3 separate regions of the Homo sapiens genome follow, and regions 2 and 3 are each linked to region 1. Evidence: promoter capture Hi-C in 16 types of primary human blood cells and fetal thymus (Javierre and others, 2016). All regions are on one chromosome and are shown on one strand. Each heading gives the region's core, a stretch centred on a gene start or on the middle of the fragment in contact. The rest is flanking DNA. Distances are from core to core; before and after follow the strand shown.

The links. Contacts are between HindIII fragments. The CHiCAGO score rates a contact against its expected background, and 5 or more counts as called.
Region 2: a contact is called between the fragment with the promoter of FBXO27 here and the fragment with the promoter of LGALS16 in region 1, in 4 of 17 cell types (total CD8 T cells, fetal thymus, naive CD8 T cells and 1 more). The highest score is 5.5, in total CD8 T cells.
Region 3: the fragment with the promoter of ACP7 here is called in contact with the fragment with the promoter of LGALS16 in region 1 in 3 of 17 cell types (naive B cells, total B cells and fetal thymus); the score reaches 7.4 in naive B cells.

What each region holds. Positions count from the first base shown.
Region 1 is chr19:39,653,784-39,657,897 of GRCh38, forward strand. It overlaps LGALS16 (galectin 16), which reads left to right and starts at 2,130. Exons shown (of 4, transcript NM_001190441.3): 1 at 2,130-2,193; 2 at 4,100-4,114. The coding sequence starts at 2,179. The HindIII fragment of the contact is 3,782 bases long and covers 2,044-4,114 here.
Region 2 is chr19:39,030,803-39,034,916 of GRCh38, forward strand. It overlaps FBXO27 (F-box protein 27), which reads right to left and starts at 1,747. Exons shown (of 6, transcript NM_178820.5): 1 at 1,701-1,747; 2 at 1,062-1,451; 3 at 407-518; 4 at 227-322. The coding sequence starts at 1,425. RefSeq lists enhancers at 326-435, 842-1,634 and silencers at 544-726, 576-815, 966-1,045, 1,246-1,395, 1,456-1,525. The HindIII fragment of the contact is 11,668 bases long and covers 1-4,114 here.
Region 3 is chr19:39,082,382-39,086,495 of GRCh38, forward strand. ACP7 (acid phosphatase 7, tartrate resistant (putative)) reads left to right here and starts at 1,987. Exons shown (of 13, transcript NM_001004318.3): 1 at 1,987-2,019; 2 at 2,711-3,009. The coding sequence starts at 2,889. RefSeq lists an enhancer at 1,840-2,340. The HindIII fragment of the contact is 23,028 bases long and covers 793-4,114 here.

The sequences.
Region 1 (4,114 bases), core at 880-3,379:
CATTCCCAACAAGCTACCAATGACCTTCTTCACAGAATTGGATGCTACCTGACTTCAAAGTACACCACAAGGCTACAGTAACCAAAACAGCATGATACTGGTACCAAAACAGATATATAGACCAATGGAACAGAATGGAGCCCTCAGAAATAACACCACACATCTATAACCATCTGATCTTTGATAAACCTGACAAAAACAAGAAATGAGGAAAGGATTCCCTATTTAATAAATGGTGCTGGGAAAACTGGCTAGCCATATGTAGAAAGCTGAAATTGGACCCCTTCCTTACACCTTATACAAAAATTAATTCAAGATGGATTAAAGACTTAAATGTTAGACCTAAAACCATGAAAACCCTAGAAGAAAACCTAGGCAATATCATTTAGGATGTAGGCATAGGCAAGGACTTCATGACTAAAACACCAAAAGCAATGGCAACAAAAGCCAAAATTGACAAATGGATCTAATTAAACTAAAGAGCTTCTGCACAGCAAAAGAAACTACCGTCAGAGTGAATAGGCAACCTACAGTATGGGAGAAAATTTTTGCAATCTACCCATTTGACAAAGGGCTAATATCCAGAATCTACAAAGAACTTAAACAAATTTACAAGAAAAAAACAAACAACCCCATCAAAAAGTGGGCAAAGGATATGAACAGACACTTCTCAAAAGAAGACATTTATGCAGCCAACAAACACAGGAAAAAATGCTTATCATCACTGGTCATTAGAGAAATGCAAATCAAAACTACATTGAGATACCATCTCACACCAGTTAGAATGGCGATCATTAAAAAGTCAGGAAACAACAGATGCTGGGGAGGATATGGAGAAATAGGAACGCTTTTACACTGTTGGTGGGAGTGTAAACGAGCTCAACCATTATGGAAGACAGTGTGGCCATTCCTCCAGGATCTAGAACTAGAAATATCATTTGACCCAGCATCCCATTACTGGGTATATACCCAAAGGATTATAAATCATGCTACTATAAAGACACATGCACACGTATGTTTATTGCAGCACTGTTCACAATAGCAAAGACTTGGAACCAAACCAAATCCTTCAATGATAGACTGAATTAAGAAAATGTGGCACATATACACCATGGAATTCTATGCAGCCATAAAAAAGGATGAGTTCATGTCCTTTGCAGGGAGATGGATGAAGCTGGAAACCATCATTCTGAACAAACTATCACTAGCACAGAAAACCAAATACCGCATGTTCTCACTCATAGGTGGGAATTGTACAATGAGAGCACTTGGACACATGGCAGGGAACATCACACATGGGGGACTATCATGGGGTGGGGGGCAGGGGGATGGATAGCATCAGGATAAATAATGTAAATGACGAGTTAATGGGTGCAGCAAACAAACATGGCACATGTATACCTGTGTAACAAACCTGCACATTGTGCACATGTACCCTGGAACTTAAAGTATAATAATAATTTTTTTTAAATCTCACCTTTCTCCCAGAATCTGCAGAAGAAACAGTCTCCCTCAAACTTTGATTTACATGGACACCAACAGAGGGTGTAGCTAGAGCCCAAGTGTGTGACAGTCAGATGAAAGTGGCCCTTACCTAGCAAAGCCAAGTGGCTTAGTGTGGGGCAGGTTCATGCAAGAAATTTCTCTACTTCTCTCTGCAGATCCTCCTCAGGATCAAGGTCAGTGCTCTCCCAGAACATTTAAAGGCAGAGAGAAGAATTACCTTTTAGGGCTAACTTGTTTCCCCCAAAATCTCCAACTTTTTTTTTCTTGTTTAGCCATTGTACAAAATTGGGAAAATGTACACCTTCTGGGTAGATTCTGCATAGTGGAGAAAAGGCTTGAGAGGCACAAAGGCTGGGCTTTACAATCACTACCCCTCACTCCATCATCCTTATCTATGCATTTCCCTGGTAACCCAATCCACAGTCTGGTACCTTCCCCAATGTCATTTCTGCTGCATTACAGACACAGACTTGCAAATAGTTATGGTTGTGACTGAGTTTCTTCGTGACACCTGACCCTTTCTCATGCTGCAAGGAAAGCTTGCTGGGAGGAGCATGGAATCTGGAATGATGCCAGAGGGCAAAGCTGAAAGGGGTCATTTAAGTGCTGCAACTCAGAGATTCACTCAGAAGACTGGACACAATTCCGAAGGTCGCCCAGAAGGAGAGGACAATGTCATTTCTAACTGTGAGTTGAAAAGGCACAGCCTTCAATAATCTCAAGTCACACAAAACCAAGAAAGATGTGGGGTATTTTATGAGATGAAAATATGAGCATTCCTACTGTGAATGCTTTACTGAGAGTTGTGGGTGTGTGGAAGAGAAACACTGAGGCTGGGTATCTGAGATGCTTGTAGCATGTGGGTTGTGGATCCTGGACAAATGTAACCCTCTGTGAGCATGAGGTGGTATCTGATGAGAGTGAACTCTGATGAGATGATGTGACTTTAGGTGGGAGGTGGATGGCACACCAGGTCAAGCAGGTGTTTGTGTGAGTGTAAGGGGGGTGATTGTACTTTGTCTTCCTCTTTGTGATGTGAGTGTGTGTTAGCACAGCCAGACCAGTGCATGGTCATCTTTATGTGCGCAGTGAGCAGGTGTGTGTAACTCAGTGAGTGGCATGGCTCTGTGTGACTGTGGGTGTGTGTGCTGGGATGTGACTGAGTATTGAAGGGAAAACACGCATGTGGCCTTCTGTGCATGTGAAGGTTCCTCCCCACACAACAGCACTTCTGATGAAGGAACTGTGTGTCTTTTCATGTGTGGCAATGTGGATCCCAGGTGGCTTAACTGGTAGGGATCTTGGAGATTGTGAGTTACCAAGGACTTGTTTCAGATCACTTATGAGAGCAGAATGTATGATCAGTAGATGTCTCTTCCCAGTAAGAGTGGGGAAGAGGAATGGAGACTATGGGGGTGATGGATCCTCAGGTGGGGTCTGCACAGAGTGACCACTGTCTCTTGCCTCCCAGGCTCAGCTTCCCTGTCCCCAGCCTATCCTGTCCTTTTCATTGTGGGACAGGAGGTTTGCTAGAGAAGGATATTAGAGGCCATGGTTTCAGAGACTGAATCACGTAAAATATCCACTGTAAGCTATGTCTCAACTGAGTCTAAACTTGTTCCTCCACCCATGAAGGAACAAGTCTAGTCTCAGTTCAGACAGAGCTTACAGTGGATATTAATCAACAAAGCAGCTGGGTTCACTGGCTCACGGCTATAATCCCACCAATCTGAGAGACAAAGATGAGAGGATAACTTGAGGCCAGAAGTTTGAGGCCAGTCTGGGTATCATAGTGAGACCCTTTCTTTAAAAAACTTTAAATATCAGACTGCCAGAGTGGCAGGCACCTTTTGCCCCAGCTACACAAGAGGGGGCAGATGTGTGAGGATCACTGCAGCCCAGGAGTTCAACGTTTCAATGAGCTATGATCGCACCACTGCATGTCAGCCTGGGCAACAGAGCAAGACCCTATCTCAAAAATACAGAAAAATCATCAACCACTTGTAGTCATTGTAGAAATCAATCATTCCCTCCAGTTATGTCCCTGACCCACAGGCTTCACTTGTGCAAGTACTGGGGCTGTGCTGTCAGTAATGTGTGCCACTTCTTGGAAGGACGTCCATTGCCCTTGATGATTGTGAGAGTTGAAAATAAGGCAGATCAGTGTTTCAGGAGGACTCCCCTGTTCTGTTAGGTCACCCCTAACAGGCCCTACACATGCCAGGGATTAGGGTAAAAGTTTTACATGTATTAACTGCTCTATTATGGAGAACTTCCTACACAGTAGGAATTCATGATAATCCTCCTTGTTTTAGGGAAACTGAGGAAGTCAAGTAACCGATCTAAGATTGCACTGCTAGTAAGAGGCAGAATGAGGACTGGAATCCAGGCTTCTTGGCTCCTGAACCCTTGCTCTTACCTATGGGTCCACCATACCTTCAGGAATGTGGGGCCCTGACTGTGGTAGAGTGAATGGGGAGAGTCCACAGAGCCTGCCCTGTGATCTCTAACCTCCTGCACCATGGGAATATGTTACAGGAAGGGAGACTGCACCTGACCCTGCACCTCTCACTTATTCTCAATACCCTGGCAGGTGCCATACAAACTG
Region 2 (4,114 bases), core at 497-2,996, 620 kb before region 1:
TTGCCATGCTGGTTGGGCTGGTCTCGAACTCCTGACCTCAAGTGATCTGCCTGCCTCGACCCCCCAAAGTGCTGGGATTATAGGTGTGAGCCACCATGGCTGGCCTGAACTTCAGATTTTTTATCTGTAAGGAGGGGTTAGGAGGCCTAAATTAAGTCACCCATAAAAAGGCCATGTCACATGCAGTCAGTGCTTAGCAAGGGGCTATTTTAATCGTCACACTCACCAGTCAGAGACACAAATCTCAATCCTGCCACTATCCAGCAGTTCTGGCCACAGACCCTCCTCCTCTAGGTCCAAGACCTGCTTCTTGCAACACCAGCTGGGAATGCAGGAGACAGGGTAATGAGAACAGGCAGGCCTTTCTCAACAAGGGGCCGGACCTTTGGATAGCAGGGGCATTCACCTGAATGAAGTCACGAAGCACGTCTGAGAAGGGGCCCCAGGCACGGTTGTCCTGTTTTCCTCCACCACCCAGCCGTCCCCACCGTGTTGCACCATCCACTTTCGGAGGCCTTCTGTGAAATAAAAAAGGCTTGTGCCCAAGTTCCAGTCGCCCGCCTGTTGGTTCCTAGTGAGACCCCGCCCCTAGCCCCTCCCACGTGCTCACAGTGCAGCTCACTCACCTGACCCTTCCCACCGAGGCCCCGCCCCCTTCCCCTCCCACCAGCTCAGGGCAAAGCCCCGCTCCTCTGGCCCTTCTCACTGATTTGCAGCAAAGCCCTGCCCCTCCAACCCCTCTCTCGGGCTCCCAGAACTGCCCCACTCCCACCCCTCCCACAGGCAAACGGTGAAGCCCTGCCCAGTCAGCCCTGCACCCTGCGTGCCAATGCTGCCTCGTCCCTCCGACACCTCCCACCGGCTCCCAATGCTGCCCCGCCCCTCCGGCACCTCACACCGGCTCCCAATGCTGCCCCGCCTCTCCGACTCCTCCCACCGGTCCCACTGCGGCCCTGCCCCTGCGGCCCCTAGTACCGGTCCCAGTGCGGCCCCGCCCCTCCGGCCCCGCTACCGCTCCCACTGTGGCCCAGCATCCTGGACTTCCTCTTCCGAGATCCCACCTTGGCCGCAGGGGTTGCGAATAAGGTTGCGTCCGATGGGTCTGCGCGCGCAGAAGCGGCCCAGGGGGCAAGGCCTGGCGTTACGGGCGGGAGACTGGCAGCTGCGGGCGAGGTGCAGCAGCGCGCGGCCGGTGGCGCCGTGGTCGCGGGCCAGGATCAGCAGCCACAGGGCCTGGCCGTCCACCAGGGCTCGCCAGCCCCGGCACACTTGGCGGCAGCGCCCGAGCAGCGTGCGCGGGGGGACGTGGCTCAGCACCACCAGAAGCAGCTCTGGGGGTAGTTGGCTCAGGTCCAGCGCCTCTTCGGGTTCCGGCTCCGGCGCGGGGACCCGGGCGGCCCGGCCCCTGGAGACCGAGGCGCCCATGGTCCCCCCGCCAGGCCCGGCTGTGGCTGCGGGAGAGGAAGGGTCAAGGCGTCAGGGACCAGCAGCCTCCGCGGCGCGCAGCCTCTGCCTGCCCTGATTCTGCCAGCCGCACCCCCGTCTTCACCATCCCTGGGCCCCGTCCCCAAGTCCCCATCCCCCAGCCCGTCCTTGATAGCCCCGATATCCCGGAGACCCCGCGGTCTGTGTGTATGCCCCGAATTGCATGCAATCAGCCCCCCTCGGCGGCCGCACCGACACCGCACCCCAAGTCCTACCCCGGGGCCTGGCGGCGCTCCTCGCCGGGATGCCCTAGCTGTGCCGCAAGCTCCCCACGCCCCTCTGCGTCCTTTTTACTCGCCGGCCCCTCCCCTCTTACTAGCCAGCTTCACCCACCCCTGCATCCTCTTTCTTACTCGCCAGCCCCTCCCGCCTGCTCCCTCCCGCTCTCCAAACCCAACCTGCTTCCCGCGACGGGGCCAGGTGCAGCCAGGAGCCAAGGCCTGCTGCTCACAGCCGTCCCCTCCAGCCGGCCCCTTGAAGTGTCCCTAATTCGTTAGTAGCAATGAGACGTCTGGCTCTGAGCAACCATTGTTATTTTGGTCAGGCTTCTGAGTGGGAGGCCTCGTATCCGTTAACGTGTTAAAAAATTTCCATCACCTTTAAGGTCGGGCGTGGTTATCTTCATTTCACAGGAGAAAACAGGCTCCGGCTGCTAAAAATTAATGCAACCAATAGTAACACCAGCCAACTTTTATGGACGGTTTTACTGCCAGCCAGGGTGGCAACCCCATGAAGTAGGTGCTGTTATGCCCTTTACTTCACAGGTGAAAAAACTGAGACCAGCAGAGGCCAAGTGGCTTGTCTATGATCACCAGCTAGTAGGGATTTGAATCCAGCCAGCCTAGCTCCGGAATTCCTCATTTTAACCTCTAGATCAGCTCTGTCCAATAAAAATACAATTGTGGCTGGGTGCGGTGACTCATGCCCGTAATCCCAGCACTTTGGGAGGCCAAGGCAGGCGGATCGCTTGAGGTCAGAAGTTCGAGACCAGCCTGGCCAACATGGTGAAACCCCGTCTCTACTAAAAATACAAAAATTAGCTGGGCGTGGTAGCACGCGCCTGTAATCCCAGCTAATTTGGAGGCTTAGGCAGGAGAATTGCTTGAATCCGGGAGGGGGAGGTTGCAGTGAGCAGAGATTGCACCACTGCACTCCAGCCTGTGCAAAAGAGTGAGTGAGACTCCGTCTCAAAAAACAAACAGAAAAAAAAAATTGTGAAAGTTGATCATGTGAATTGGATCCTTCTTGTCATATCCAACTAAAACAAAGTTGAGAGGCCGGGGGGAAAACACTTAGGGCAGATACCATTGCTCCAAGAAAGTGATTCTCTGCAAGCCTGGCTGTTAAAACTGCCTGTTGTAACCTGGAAGCAGTCTAACTGGTACTGAAAAAACCTGCCGTGACTCTAAGACTAGTTTTTCCCTCTGCTGTCACTTACCAGTCAGAACTTGCCAGCTCCCCAGAACGTTGCTAGTGTCAATGAACTTTCTTGCAAAACAATACCTAACATTTCTGTTTCTTATAAAAACCTCTAACCTCTTTGTTCTTTGAAAGTTCTGAAGACCGCCTGGTCTGTGTGGATGCCTCGAATGTCAATTCTTGCTTCCCAAATAAAACATTTTATTATTTTTTTGAGACAGAGTCTCGCTCTGTCGCCCAGGCTGGAGGGCAGTGATGCAATCTCGTCTCACTGCAACCTCCGCCTCATGGGTTCAAGCGATTCTCCTGCCTCAGCCTCCCGAGTAGCTGGGATTACAGGCGCATGCCACCATGCCCAGCTAATTTTTGTATTTTTAGTAGAGACGGGGTTTCACCATGTTGGCCAGGATGGTCTCAAACTCCCGACCTCAGGTGATCTGCCCGCCTCAGCCTCCCAAAGTGCTGGGATCGCAGGCATGAGCCACCGCAACAAAACATTTTAAATCGAGAGATTTGTCTCTATATCTCTATATTTTATTTGGCTTCGACATAACGTGAGCTGTATACATAGTTTAAGACATCAACAAACAAAACCAGACATGGATTCTTCCCCACAAAGAACTTACCTTCTAGAGGGAGAGACATGATAAACAGTTGGCATAATGAGCAAATTACGTAGTATCAGGGAAATAATTAAATATAAAACCTCCAGGCCGGGCATGATGGCTCACGCCTGTAATCCCAGAACTTTGGGAGGCTGAGGCAGGCGGATCACTTGAGGTCAGGAGTGTGAGACCAGCCTGGCCAAAATGGCGAAACTCCGTCTCTACTGAAAATACAAAAATTAGCCGGGCATGGTGGCGCATGCCTGTGATCCCAGCTACTCGGGAAGCTGAGGCATGAGAATCACTTCAACAAGGGAGGCAGAGGTTGCAGTGAGCTGAGACCTCACCACTGCACTCCAGCCTAGGCGACAGAGTGAGAAGCTGTCTTAAATAAATAAAATAAATAAAACCTCCTTTTGACCCTCTTAGAATCCTCTCCACAAATGCAGAAAAGAATTAAATGGGTCCTGGCATGGGGGCTCACACCTGTAATCCCAGCACTTTGGGAGGCCGAGGCAGGAGGATCTCTTGAGCCCAGGAGTTTGAGACCAGCGCTGGCAACACAGTGAAACCCCGTCTCTACAAAAAATTTAAAAAGTAGCTGC
Region 3 (4,114 bases), core at 737-3,236, 570 kb before region 1:
TCTAAGTTAGTCAGTGCTGAAGATAGATTTATAACCAGGCCATCTAGCCCCAGAGTCGATGCTCCATTCCCCACCGCAAGCTTATACCTGAGCTATAAGCCCTCATCCGCCAGTCAGGGTCCAACCAGAGGCAACTCCAGTGGGCTCTTTTCACCTGGGCTGGTGGTTGGGAATTCAGGAGCTACGTGAACTTGGATAGGGGAAACTTTTTTTACCTCTCCTTTTACTACACTTTAATCTAGCAGTTCTCAAAATGTGGTCTGGGGGCACCTGTGGGTCCGCAAGACCTTTCTCAGGGGCTAGTGAGGTCAAAAGTATTTTCATAATGATATTAAGACGTTTGTCCTTTTCATTCTCCAGAGACTACCTGACCTGTGATAATGTCATCACTCTGATGGCTAATAGAAATATATGCATGTATATTCGTGTGTTTTTAAAACTTCTCGTTTTCAGCCAGGTTCATGCCTGTAGTCCCAGCTACTCGGGAGGCTGAGGCTCGAAAATCGCATGAACCCAGGAGGCAGAGGTTGTAATGAGCCAAGATCGTGTTACTGTGCTCCAGCCTGGGCAACAGAGTGAAACTCTGTCTCAAAACAAAAACAAAACACACACACACACAAAACCAAAAAACAAACACAAAAACAAAACAACAACAACAAAAAAACCCCCCAACACCTTGTATCACAATAGCACTGGTTTCCTTTGTATTTCTGTGTATTTATATTATGCATGTAACGACATGATCCTGAGAAGGGCTTGACCAGCTTGCCATAGGCATCTTTAGCACAAAAAAGCTTAGGAACCTCCCATTCTGGACGAACTAAGAATACGGGGAGGTTATAATTGGGGGCCACAGGAGTGGCAGGTACTCAAGTTTGGTTATGAGAGCTACTTTCATTATATTTTAGGCTGTAATGGAGACTCTGGAAGTGGGAAGAAAAAAAAAAAAACTCAAACAGTGCAAAGGGCTCGTTTTGATTTTCCCACACTCCTAGTGCCAATTTCTGAAATTGGTGTCCACAATCAGTAGAAGCCTATGTGCTCTGAATTTACAAAGCCAAGTGGTGGCGGGTCATTGTATCTGCAGTCAGGAAGGGGAAACGACTGGAAATCCGGGCCCCCCCAGTTCTTCCCTGCTTCTCTTTTTGTGGCAGCCGCTCCTCACGTTCAAACAGATTGCAAAGGTTTACAGGGGAGAACCCTAACTTGTTCCCTAGACGTCAGTTTCTGGAGTTCCTGCATTAATACGATTAAAAAGAACAGCTGATTCTTATCCAGCCCTTACTCTGGGCCGGGCCCTGTTATCGGCATGAAATTTCATGCAGCAACTCGTTTACTCCTCACAACAGCCCACGGGGTATATACGAGCATCACCTCCTTTTTACAGGTGAAAAAACCCAAGGTCCAGCGAGGTTGAATAACTCACCTAGGTCGCACAGCTCAGAAAGCCCACTGCAATTCCGGGATTCTGGTTTTGTTTTGAGGTTGCCCCGGGCTTCTGAGGAGGGGTCAGTGGGCTCAGCATGGAAAGGAAGGAAGCCGGAAGGCTGGAGGAAGATGCAGCGAGGCTGGAAAGGTTGGGGATCCCCCGGTCCTGCACACCTGGGTACCTGGGGATCGGGCAGGGCCAGGATAGGGGCCGGTGTCCGTGCCCTGGGGCTCCCCAGCTGATGAGTGGGCGCCTGAGGGACGAGCGCAGGGTTACCTGCCTGGGCTCTCACCTGGTGGCCGGCTCAGAGGTGGCGCGCCGGAGACGTATCATAACCTTCCTGGGTCCCCCTTCCCGCGCCACGCCCTGGTGGGGTGGGCGGGTGGGTGTGGGGCGCCCAGGCAGGACCGGCCGGACCTGTGGGACCCGGGGCCCTGGCTGTCTAGGGAGGCTGTCACCCCGAGGCGACCGGCTCTTCCGGGGCTGGGACGGCTGTAGGCGGCAAGAGGCCTCGGCACCCGCGAACTCATAAATACCGGGGCGGCGCTGGTGGCGGGAGAGGCGCGTGCGGGCAGCCGGCGCCCCCGAGGGTGAGCCGGGGTCCGGGAGGGCGTCCCCTTTCCCGGATGGTCCCGACCCGGCTCCATCCTGGCAGCTGGAGACGGAGCTGGAGCAGGCGGGAAAGCGCTGGAGAGAAGGGGGGTGGGTACAGATGGGGGAAGGGCAGGGACGCTGGGGATGGGGAGAGAGGATGCGGCCGCTCTGGCCATGATGGGCTCTAAAGGATCTGGGGGTGGTGTGGGAGGATTGGGGTCACTAGGAGCAAAATAGAAGGCTAAGGATGGAGTAGGGAGGCGAGGTCCCGGGGGCAGGCGGGAATGCTTGGAATCTCGGGAGTAGGTAGGAGAACTGGGGTTTCTAACAGCAGGATGGAAAGCTGGGGATGGGGCTGCGGAATGCAACCTCCTACACAGCCTCCACCCCGCTCCCAGACCCCCAGCACTGAGAGTGAGCTCTGGTTAGGAGCAAGGCTCTGGAATCAGGCCCTCCTGGGTTCAAATCCTGGCTCCATCCCATCCTAGCTGTGCAGCTGAATCACTCAGCTGCTCGGTTTCCTCATCTGTGATATGGGGATGACAATGCTCACAGCCACCACTTCATAGCAATGTCGTGAGGCTTCCGTGAATTAATCTATGTCAAGCGGTTGGCACACTGTGAGTGAGGCTCAGAGAGCTCTGCTGCTGTTCCTTAGCGATTCTTATTTTTGGTTTCTCTCTCCAGCACCTGGATAACCACCCATCTTGAAGGAGACCTCCCTGCCCTGCCTCTGTTGTCCCCCAGAGCACTGCCTGATCATCCTCTGTTCCCCATCCTCCCAGCCCTTCCTGCTGTACCTGTGGGGAGCTGATCTCCTCAGTCCCCCTGCTTTTCCCCGGTCTGCCATCACCACCCCACCACCATGCACCCCCTTCCTGGCTACTGGTCCTGTTACTGTCTACTCCTGCTATTCTCCTTGGGAGTCCAGGGGTCCCTGGGGGCTCCCAGCGCTGCCCCAGAGCAAGTCCATCTGTCTTACCCAGGTAAGTGTCCCTGACTCATTTCTATGCCTCTACCAGAGAGGCCCAGCGGTGCTTCGTTGTTTGAGGGCTCAGGAATCCCACACTGTGAGCCCCTAGGCGGGTGGCTCATTCCTCCTGAGCCTCCATCATCCACCTCTGTGGAATAGGAAGTACAGGCTGTGGAACACCTGGAAGTGTGGGGAATGATCATGGTGCTCAGCCCACAGAGAGTGCTCCCCTGCTCTCAAAAGGGGACCGCTGCTGTCCTTGTTCATTGCATCTCTGTTGTGTTTCCGGGACCTGGCACGTTTGTTCGTTCATGCACGGTAGGCCTCAGAGCCAGTTGTGGAAGGAACCAGTGGATGAATGATAACAGAGCTGGGTTACCCAGCCCCTTCTCCATCCCTCTTCTCCTCTTCCCCACGAGGCTGACTGCCTCCCGATCTTTGATTAGGATCCTTCCACTGTGGGAGTAAGAGCTTGGACTCTGGACCATTGGCACCCAGACCACGTGGGTTAGAATCCCAGCTTTGCTATGTACCTGCTGCCTAATCTTGGGCAAGTGGCTTAACCTCTCTGTCCTCAGTCTCCTCATCTGGATAATGGGGTAATATTAGTACAACCTCATGGTGAGGTGTAAATGAGTTGCTACCTGTAAAGGGGCAGAACTGAGGCTGAGTGTGGGGGCTCACACCTGTAGTCTTAGCAGTTTGGGAGGCTGAGGCGGAAGGATCACTTGAGCTCATGAGTTTGGGACCAGCCTAGGAAACATAGTGAGACCTCTGCCTCTTAGGGAAAAAGAAAAAATCTTAGACAGGTGTGGTGGCATGCACCTATAGTCCCAGCTACTTGGGAGACTGAGGTGGGAGGATCGCTTGAGCCCAGGAGTTCAAGGCTGCAGTGAGCCATGATTGGCCACTACACTCCAGCCTGGGCAACAGAGAGAGACCCTGTCTTTAAAAAAAAAAATGTGGAGGAGGCCAGGCACAGTGGTGCATGCCTGTAATCTCAGCAATTTGGGACACTGAGGTGGGTGGATCACTTGACCTCAGGGGTTCAAGACCAGCCTGGGTAACATGGGTGAAACCCGGTCTCTACAAAAAAATTAAAAAATTAGCTGGGCATG